Linked DNA regions of Homo sapiens: region 1 is linked to region 2. The links are contacts of gene promoters, found by promoter capture Hi-C in human tissues and cell types (Jung and others, 2019). All regions are on one chromosome and are shown on one strand. The core of a region is centred on a gene start or on the middle of the fragment in contact, and the rest is flanking DNA. Distances in the headings are between cores, read along the strand shown.

Region 1 (4,050 bases), core at 1,448-3,947, 270 kb before region 2:
GATTTCAGTTGTAGGCCACAGTTCGGAAATACCAGGGACACAGAGGTTACATTTAGGTTTTCCCTTCTCCATAACGCATTTTTGTAAATTTTCTACCATAAAAGGCACGATATTGCACATCAGAAACAAATTCAGTACCTACTTGGAAAAAAATAGCATTTAAAAATAAAATACTAGGCTGAGCGTGGTGGCTTATGCCTGTAATCCCAGCACATTGAGAGGCTAAGGCGGGTGGATCACTCGAGGTTAGGAATTCGAGACCAGGCTTGCCAACATGGTGAAATCCCATCTCTACTAAAAATACAAAAATGAGCCAGGCTTGGTGGTGAGCACCTATAGTCCCAGCTACTCTGGAGGCTGAGGCATGAAAATCACTTGAAGCCGGGAGGTGGAAGTTGCAGTGAGCCAAAATCACACCACTGCATTTCAGCCTGGGCAACAGAATGAATCTCCATCTCAGACAAACAAACAAACAAACAAAAACAAAACAAAACAAAACTATTTCAAACATTTTAAGCTAATGGCAGCCCATAAGTGCCACATCTCCCTTTTGACCTCTTCCCATAGGCCCTGGAGTCTGTGCACTCCCAGGCACACATACCCTGTTGTCTCTCAAGCATCCGCAGTGCAGGTGGGGGACTTACGTTCTTACAATCCTAAAACCTTTGATTATAACCCACACTAAAATAAGAAAGGTAATCAAATGTGTGGGTGGAAGCTTGCCAGACATTTGTAGAGTTCCATACCGTTCATAAAGTGCTTAAAAATGCTTAATTTCATTTGAATAACACTTGCTGTTGTAGCTATGTAGATTTTTCTTTCTCTTTTTCTTTTTTAAAAAGCAAAGGTATATACAACAGCTCATTTAAAAAGACTAGACAGACCCTAGCTCCAACTAATTCTCTAGATTGAGCACGTGAGAGAACTATGTTCCATTTCCTTTTTTGGTATCGCAGGCCTTGATCTCCAAACAAACACATGAAGTAAGTGTCTAAACTCTGGGTGGAAGTAAGCTAATCATTGACATTCAAAACACTCTGCTACTTGACACACTTAAACAATAAATGCCCAGCTGGCTAAAATTCTATTGCTACAAATCATTATCTCTTTAAGGGGCCCACATAAATCTATGCAGGTGTTTGGAAGACTATAACCTGTCTGCGACTTTTTTTTGCATCTCTAGGAGTGTTCAGCTCACAGACTGGCACAAAGGAATGATGACTGTGCCTTTGTGGGAGGAGGAGAGATTAGGTCATTGCCACCGAGGGAACACTTGCTCTGACCCAGGTGGCTGTCAAGAAGCGACAGATTGAATCCCTCTAACTCATGTGGCAAATAGATTATTCTCATTTCACAGATGAAGAAACTGAGGCTCAGAGAGGTTAACTTGTTTAATTTCATAAAGCATGAGAGTGGGAAGATGAGATTTGAACCCGAGTTCCTCAGAATTGTATAATATCTTGCTGTTTACTCTTTCTTTTCTCTCTCTCTCTCTTTTTTTTTTTTTTTTTTGTTGTTGTTGTTGTTGAGGCAGGGTCTCGCTCCATCACTCAAGCTGGAATGCAGCAGCACGATCGTGGCTCACTGCAACCTGCACCTCCCGGGCTCAAGAGATCCTCCCACCTCACATCCTGAGTAGCTGGGACTACAGGCACACACCATCATGCCTGGCTAATATTTGTATTTTTTGTAGAGATGGAGTTTCCCCATGTTGGCCAGGCTGTTCTCAAACTTCTGGACTCAAGCAATTCACCCACCTGTGCCTTCCAAAGTGCTGCAATTACAGGCATGAGCCATCATGCTTGGCTTACTCTTTTTTTTTTTTTTAAACAATCAGTTTAACTTCTGAAATGTTCATATTAATCCTGATGCTGCTAAAAATTGTATTTCTAGAGAAACTCACATTGGCACTTCAAAATGGATATTTTTGTAACCTTTACCAGAATACAACAAAGCTTCAGAACACCACTGAATGTCACAGTGAATTCGTATGGCTGGAGAGCTGCCTGGGAATTAAGGCTCAGATCCCAGGTTCGCTATGGAATAAAAATACTATTTCTGATAAGATAGATGGTCTCTCACTTTGGTACATTTTCTTCCACTCTTTTAAAACAAAGATGACTCTTTTTCTGTGTTTTTGCTTCTGAGATAATATGAAACTTCAGGAAGTCCTGTTTGGTTCAGTGGAGCCAACTGGGACAAAGTTGCTATAAAAATCTGAAGAATCAGCCCCTGTAAGGAACAATTTGACAACCACAACCATAGCCAGCAGAAACATGATTAACACCATCATCATCAATACTACCACAGCCATCATCACCATTACCACTATCATCAATATCACCAACAACATCATTTTTATCGTCACTGTCATCATTACCATCATCATCATCAGACTTTCCTAGGATAGGACAGATGAGGTAGTTTCCTCTTCCTCATGTGAATTTATGATTTTCCTATCATAAATTATCCCCCACAAGTTATCTCCCACAATTACCCATGCCTGTTCAAACTTCAAATATTTTAACCATGACTTTGACAGGATACAGACTTTGTGTAAGTGAAAACAAATATTCAAGATGCATGCATGGCAGAGGTCATTTACAAACTTCTCTCTTTGATCAGTCAAATTCTTTTCATTGTTTACATAATAGTGGTCAGCCTTCAAAAGTGTCTTTGAAGTAAGTTTCAATATATGCTTTGCCTGACTCACTCACCAACCCAAAACACACACACACACACACACACACACACACGCGCGCGCGATTGCATACACACACACTTACTTGTATAACAACTTGCTTATATACTGATGTTCTCTAAGTACAAATGTCCTCCCATGGCCTGTCTCTCAAGTCCCCAGATTTATACACTGTGTCACTACTAAACTTGGGATCAGATGTTGCTCTCTAAGTACAGGTGATTCTTTTTTATTTTTTTGAGACAGAGTCTCACTCTTGTCACCCAGGCTGGAGTGCAGCGGCAAGATCTGGGCTCACTTCAACCTCCGCCTCCCGGGTTCAAGCGATTCTCCTGCCTCAGCCTCCAGAGTAGCTGGGACTACAGGCACCTGTCACCACGCCCATCTAATTTTTGTATTGTTATTAGAGACGGGGTTTCACCATGTTGGCCAGGTTGGTCTCGAACTCCTGACCTCAGGTGATCTGCCCACTTCAGCCTCCCAAAGGGCTGGGATTACAGACACAAGCCACCATGCCTGGCCAAGTACATGTGATTCTAATCTACAATGACATGTAACACAAGAACAATATTTATTTATTTATTTATTTGAGACAGAGTCTTGCTCTGTCGCCCAGGCTGGAGTGCAGTGGCGCAATCTCAGTTCACTGCAAGCTCCACCTCCCGGGTTCATGCCATTCTCCTGCCTCAGCCTCCTGAGTAGCTCACACTACAGGCACCTGTCACCACGCCTGGCTAATTTTTTGTATTTTTAGTAGAGATGGGATTTCACCGTGTTAGCTAGGATGGTCTCAATCTCCTGACCTGCTGATCCACCCGCCTCAGCCTCCCAAAGTGCTGGGATTACAGGCGTGAGCCACTGCGCCGGGCCCGAACAAGCTTTATGTTTAAAAACTGTAACTCATAGATATGAGTATTAAGATTAATTTTTTAAGTTAATTTTTAATTAATTTTTAAAATTTAATTTAATTTTTTAAAATTAATCTATTGGATTTTAAGTATACAAAAGCTATTGTCCATTTCAGAATAGCAATATAAAAAGTCCTTAAGAATCTGTCTGAAGGCTGGGCACCAGACCATCCTGGCTAACACGGTGAAGCCACGTCTCTACTAAAATTACACACAAAAAAAATTAGCCGGGCGTGGTGGCGGGCACCTGTAGTCCCAGCTACTCCGGAGGCTGAGGCAGGAGAATCGCTTGAATCAGGGAGGGGGAAGTTGCAGTGAGCCGAGATTACACCATTGCACTCCAGTCTGGGAGACAGAGTGAGATTCCGTCTCAAAAAAAAAAAAAAAAAAAAAAAAAAATTCTAAGCCTTCTTATATGATATAAGTGATATGAGGTTTGGG
Region 2 (4,514 bases), core at 1,482-3,981:
AAGTGATAGGCAGGGCACTAGGAAAAGAGAAGGGCATTTGCAAAGGTCTGGAAGCAAAAGGGCACACAATGTTCGGGGAAAATGTGGGGGGAAATCCAGTTTCTTTGGGTTATAATGTGAGGAGATGAGGCGGCAGGGAGGGAGAGACAGGGCTGGAATGCAGGGCTGGGTGGGACTGGGAATGGTCTTGTAAAGGGTTGATGCAGGCCAGCTGTGAGGTTCGTGTGGCTAATAAAAAGGGAGCCACAAAGCCCGGTGTAGGAGACCAGTTAGCAGCTTAAGGAGAAAGATGGGAGAATGGCCTGTACTGGGAAGAGGCAGTAGAGAAGAAAGAGACATGGAAGGACGAAAGACAGATTTAGGAGGTAGAACCCCCAGGATGCCCTTCCTCCCCACAGGTAAATAACACCTGGGCTTCACTCATTCCACAGAGATCTAAGCAAAAACGAAACTATGTTGGAAGAGGATTCAAATCACATGAAGCATTTATGAAGTGGCAGTGTCACACATGATACCTTCTGACATGTATGAGAGGGATGGCAGACTGATTCCTGCTTTAGATAGTTAATCACCACACAGTTAATGAAACAAGACAAATTTTAAATGATGCATAGGCCAGGCACAGTGGCTCACACCTGTAATCTCAGCACTTTGGGAAGCCAAGGTTGGCAGATGAGTTGAGGTCAGGAGTTCGAGACCAGCCTGAGCAACAAGGTAAAATCCCGTCTCTACTAAAAATACAAAAATTATCTGGGCATGGTGGTGGGTGCCTATAATCCCAGCTACTAGGTAGGCTGAGGCAGGAGAACTGCTTGCTTGAACCCAGGAACCAGAGGTTGCAGTGGGCCGAGATTTTGCCGTCACACTCTAGGCTGGGCAGCAGAGCAAGACTCCATCTCAAAAAAAATTTTTTTAATTAAAAAAAATTAAAAGTGATGTATATATCACTATTACATAAATGATGCAACAGCATTATTCACAATAGCCAAAAGGTAAAAGCAATCTAAGTGTCTATGGATGGAAGACTGGATAAACAAAATGTGGTATTTATGCACAATAGAATATCATTCAACCTTCAAAAGGAAGGACATTCTGACACATGCTACAATATGGATGAACCTGGAGGACATTAAGCTCAGTGAAATAAGCCAGTCACGAAAGGACAAATACGGTCCGATTCCAGTTCTATGAGGTACCTAAAGTAGTTAAATTTATAGAGAGAAAAAAGTAGAATGGTGATCACCAGGGCCTGTGAGGGAGGGAGGAAAGGAGAGTTAGTGTTTAGTGGGTACAGTGTCAGTTTGGGAAGAGGAAAAAATCCCAGGAGTGGATGGTGGTGAGGGTATCACAACAATGTGAATGTATGTCATACCAATGAGCTGTACACTTAAAGATGGTTACAACGGTCAACTGTATGTTACATATATGTTACCACAGGTTTTTTTTTTAATTTAAAAATATTCTTTTAAAAAAAGCAGTCACTGTCATTCCTAGTGTTGTCCACTCTGGAATATTCAAAATTATTTCAAACCAATGCTAAATTAACTTGAATTTTAAAAATAGTTTTAATTTTAAACAATTATAAAGGCAATACGTTTTCATTGTAAAAATCTAGAAAATACAAAAAAGTGTTATTAAAGGATAATTTTTAGAAAAAATGTAAACATCGTGACTTTCACACAAATATAAAATGAATATGTGTGAAAGAGGTTATTTAACTCATTATTGAATAAGGAAACCAGTATGATGTTAAAACCAAAGAAGCTGGCCACTTGCCTGCAGTCCTAGCTACTCCAGAGGCTGAGGCGGGAGACTCACCTGAGCCCAGGAGTTTGCAACCAGCCTGGGCAACACAGCGAAACTCCCCAACCCTGTTTAAAATAAATAAATAAATAAATAAATAAATAAATAAATAAAAGAAAAAGGAAAAAAAAAAAGCAAAGAACAAAAGGACACACATATACAGACAAACAGGAATGCTAAAATGAATTTACAAATCAATGCCATACTGGTCAGTATCCATTGGACAATAATCATTCCACTGGGACGAACTCATTAGCCTTGATGTTGGCAAAAGTCATTTGCAATACTACAGGCTTTCTATAATTTATAGAGTTGTAAAATAACCTACAGACGAGAAAGGCCACAGTACACTGTAAAATTAAATAAACCTGCAAAAAACGCTAAGCAGGACATCCGGGAACACTGGTCCCTCTTTCTAGTCCCCTTGAAAGTCTCACAAGGCTGAAAAAGGAAAGTAAAATCCTTGTGTAACCCTTCTGCCCAGAAGTACACTGGCACAGATTCTTTAGAGACGAATTTAATCCAGAGTGTGGAGCCTTTATTAAGGAAATAATCCGGTGCAACGTTCTGGGACACGCTCCTGGACTGGGTGGGCTTCTGCACACTCACCCAGCGCACCTCCAATCCCCGGGAGCGCTCGGCACCGCCCACTTCTCTGCGAGTGGCTGCAAGTTGCAGAGCAAACCAGGGGGCGATCTGGAACCCTCTGGGAGTAAAGGGCTAAGCTATAAGCGCAGGGTCGACGGGCAGGGACCGGAAACAAATTCTAGGAACCGAGATCCGCTGAGCAGCAGGGAAGCTGCGCAGCCACCGCGTCCCGCCAGCGCCGCCTCTTTCCCTCCCCGCCCACCGCCCGCCTGGCCCGGCGGGGCGGCGCGAGGACCCAGGGGCGGGGCGACCTTTGCTCCGGCCGTGAGCAGTCCAGGCCAGGCGTGGCCCAGCCGCCCGGCTGCAAGGTGGGGTGTCCCCGCCGCTCGGATCCCCATCTCACCTGCCGCGGGCGAGGTGGCCCCGCCGCTTCCTGCGCTCACCTCGGGTCCCTCCCTCCCGGGCCAGGTTTGGCCGCGGCAGCCGCCCCTGGGCGCCCGCGCCCGGACCCGCGGTTTCGGTCAGACCCGCCCGCGGGCTGGTTTCGATTAGGGCCAGTAGGAGGGCGGAGCGGCCGGGACGCCAGGAGGGAACTAGCCTAAGTGGGGACGGTCCCCGTGCAGGAGACAAAGAGCGTCCCTGGAGCGATCAGGGCTCAGGAGCCCGACCCGGAGCCCGGGGCGTCCGCGCTGACTTCGGGTCCCCGGAGCCTGGGGCACGGCAGGGAGAAGACGACGGCGGAGAAGGCGACAGCGGAGAAGGAAGGCAGGCTGCAGGGGCGCCGTCGGCGCGGCGGGCCGGGATGCGGACGCCGGTGGTGATGACGCTGGGCATGGTGTTGGCGCCCTGCGGGCTCCTGCTCAACCTGACCGGCACCCTGGCGCCCGGCTGGCGGCTGGTGAAGGGCTTCCTGAACCAGCCAGTGGACGTGGAGTTGTACCAGGGCCTGTGGGACATGTGTCGCGAGCAGAGCAGCCGCGAGCGCGAGTGCGGCCAGACGGACCAGTGGGGCTACTTCGAGGCCCAGCCCGTGCTGGTGGCGCGGGCACTCATGGTCACCTCGCTGGCCGCCACGGTCCTGGGGCTTCTGCTGGCGTCGCTGGGCGTGCGCTGCTGGCAGGACGAGCCCAACTTCGTGCTGGCAGGGCTCTCGGGCGTCGTGCTCTTCGTCGCTGGCCTCCTCGGCCTCATCCCGGTGTCCTGGTACAACCACTTCTTGGGGGACCGCGACGTGCTGCCCGCCCCGGCCAGCCCGGTCACGGTGCAGGTCAGCTACAGCCTGGTCCTGGGCTACCTGGGCAGCTGCCTCCTGCTGCTGGGCGGCTTCTCGCTGGCGCTCAGCTTCGCGCCCTGGTGCGACGAGCGTTGTCGCCGCCGCCGCAAGGGACCCTCCGCCGGGCCTCGCCGCAGCAGCGTCAGCACCATCCAAGTGGAGTGGCCCGAGCCCGACCTGGCGCCCGCCATCAAGTACTACAGCGACGGCCAGCACCGACCGCCGCCTGCCCAGCACCGCAAGCCCAAGCCCAAGCCCAAGGTCGGCTTCCCCATGCCGCGGCCGCGGCCCAAGGCCTACACCAACTCGGTGGACGTCCTCGACGGGGAGGGGTGGGAGTCCCAGGACGCTCCCTCGTGCAGCACCCACCCCTGCGACAGCTCGCTGCCCTGCGACTCCGACCTCTAGACGCTTGTAGAGCCTGGGGGGCGCCGGGTGGCAAAGGACTCACCCCCGCACAGGCCCGCCTGGCTTCGAGTTGGAACCCGGACACTTGCCCCTCACTGGTGTGGATGGAAATCTGCCTTTCGTGGGACCAAACAGGACTCCTTGGACGATTAGTTCAGGTTGGGTTTGGTTTTCTTCTTAAAGAGTTTAGTTTTCCTCTCCAGAGGGATCAGGGTCCTCTTAGGGAGTGACGGGCTTTTCATATATTTTTGCTGAAGAATATATGGAAAGGGTGGCATTTGCGTCACGTGGACCAGGGACAGTGCTGAAATCAGCAGTGCTCAGAAACAATTTAACATGTTGAAACGACAATATTCTAAAATACTGATGAATCTTGCATCAATATAATTATTGGGTTTTTTTTCTTTTTCCTGCTGTATAACTCCTTGCCATGCAAACTCTC

The links. The method cuts DNA at HindIII sites, captures the fragments that hold promoters and counts their contacts. A contact is called where the count stands out against the background at its distance.
Region 1: a contact is called between a fragment that was not itself captured here and the fragment with the promoter of CLDN23 in region 2, in 3 of the 25 tissues and cell types used here (IMR-90 fibroblasts, dorsolateral prefrontal cortex and hippocampus).

The regions. Positions count from the first base shown.
Region 1 is chr8:8,426,873-8,430,922 of GRCh38, forward strand. No RefSeq gene overlaps it. Among named protein-coding and RNA genes, the nearest start is that of LINC02949, 4.3 kb to the left of the region's middle. The HindIII fragment of the contact is 5,506 bases long and covers 1-4,050 here.
Region 2 is chr8:8,699,206-8,703,719 of GRCh38, forward strand. It overlaps CLDN23 (claudin 23), which reads left to right and starts at 2,732. Exons shown (of 1, transcript NM_194284.3): 1 at 2,732-4,514. The coding sequence starts at 3,194. The coding sequence ends at 4,072. RefSeq lists a silencer at 2,465-3,084 and an enhancer at 2,558-3,525. The HindIII fragment of the contact is 23,279 bases long and covers 1-4,514 here.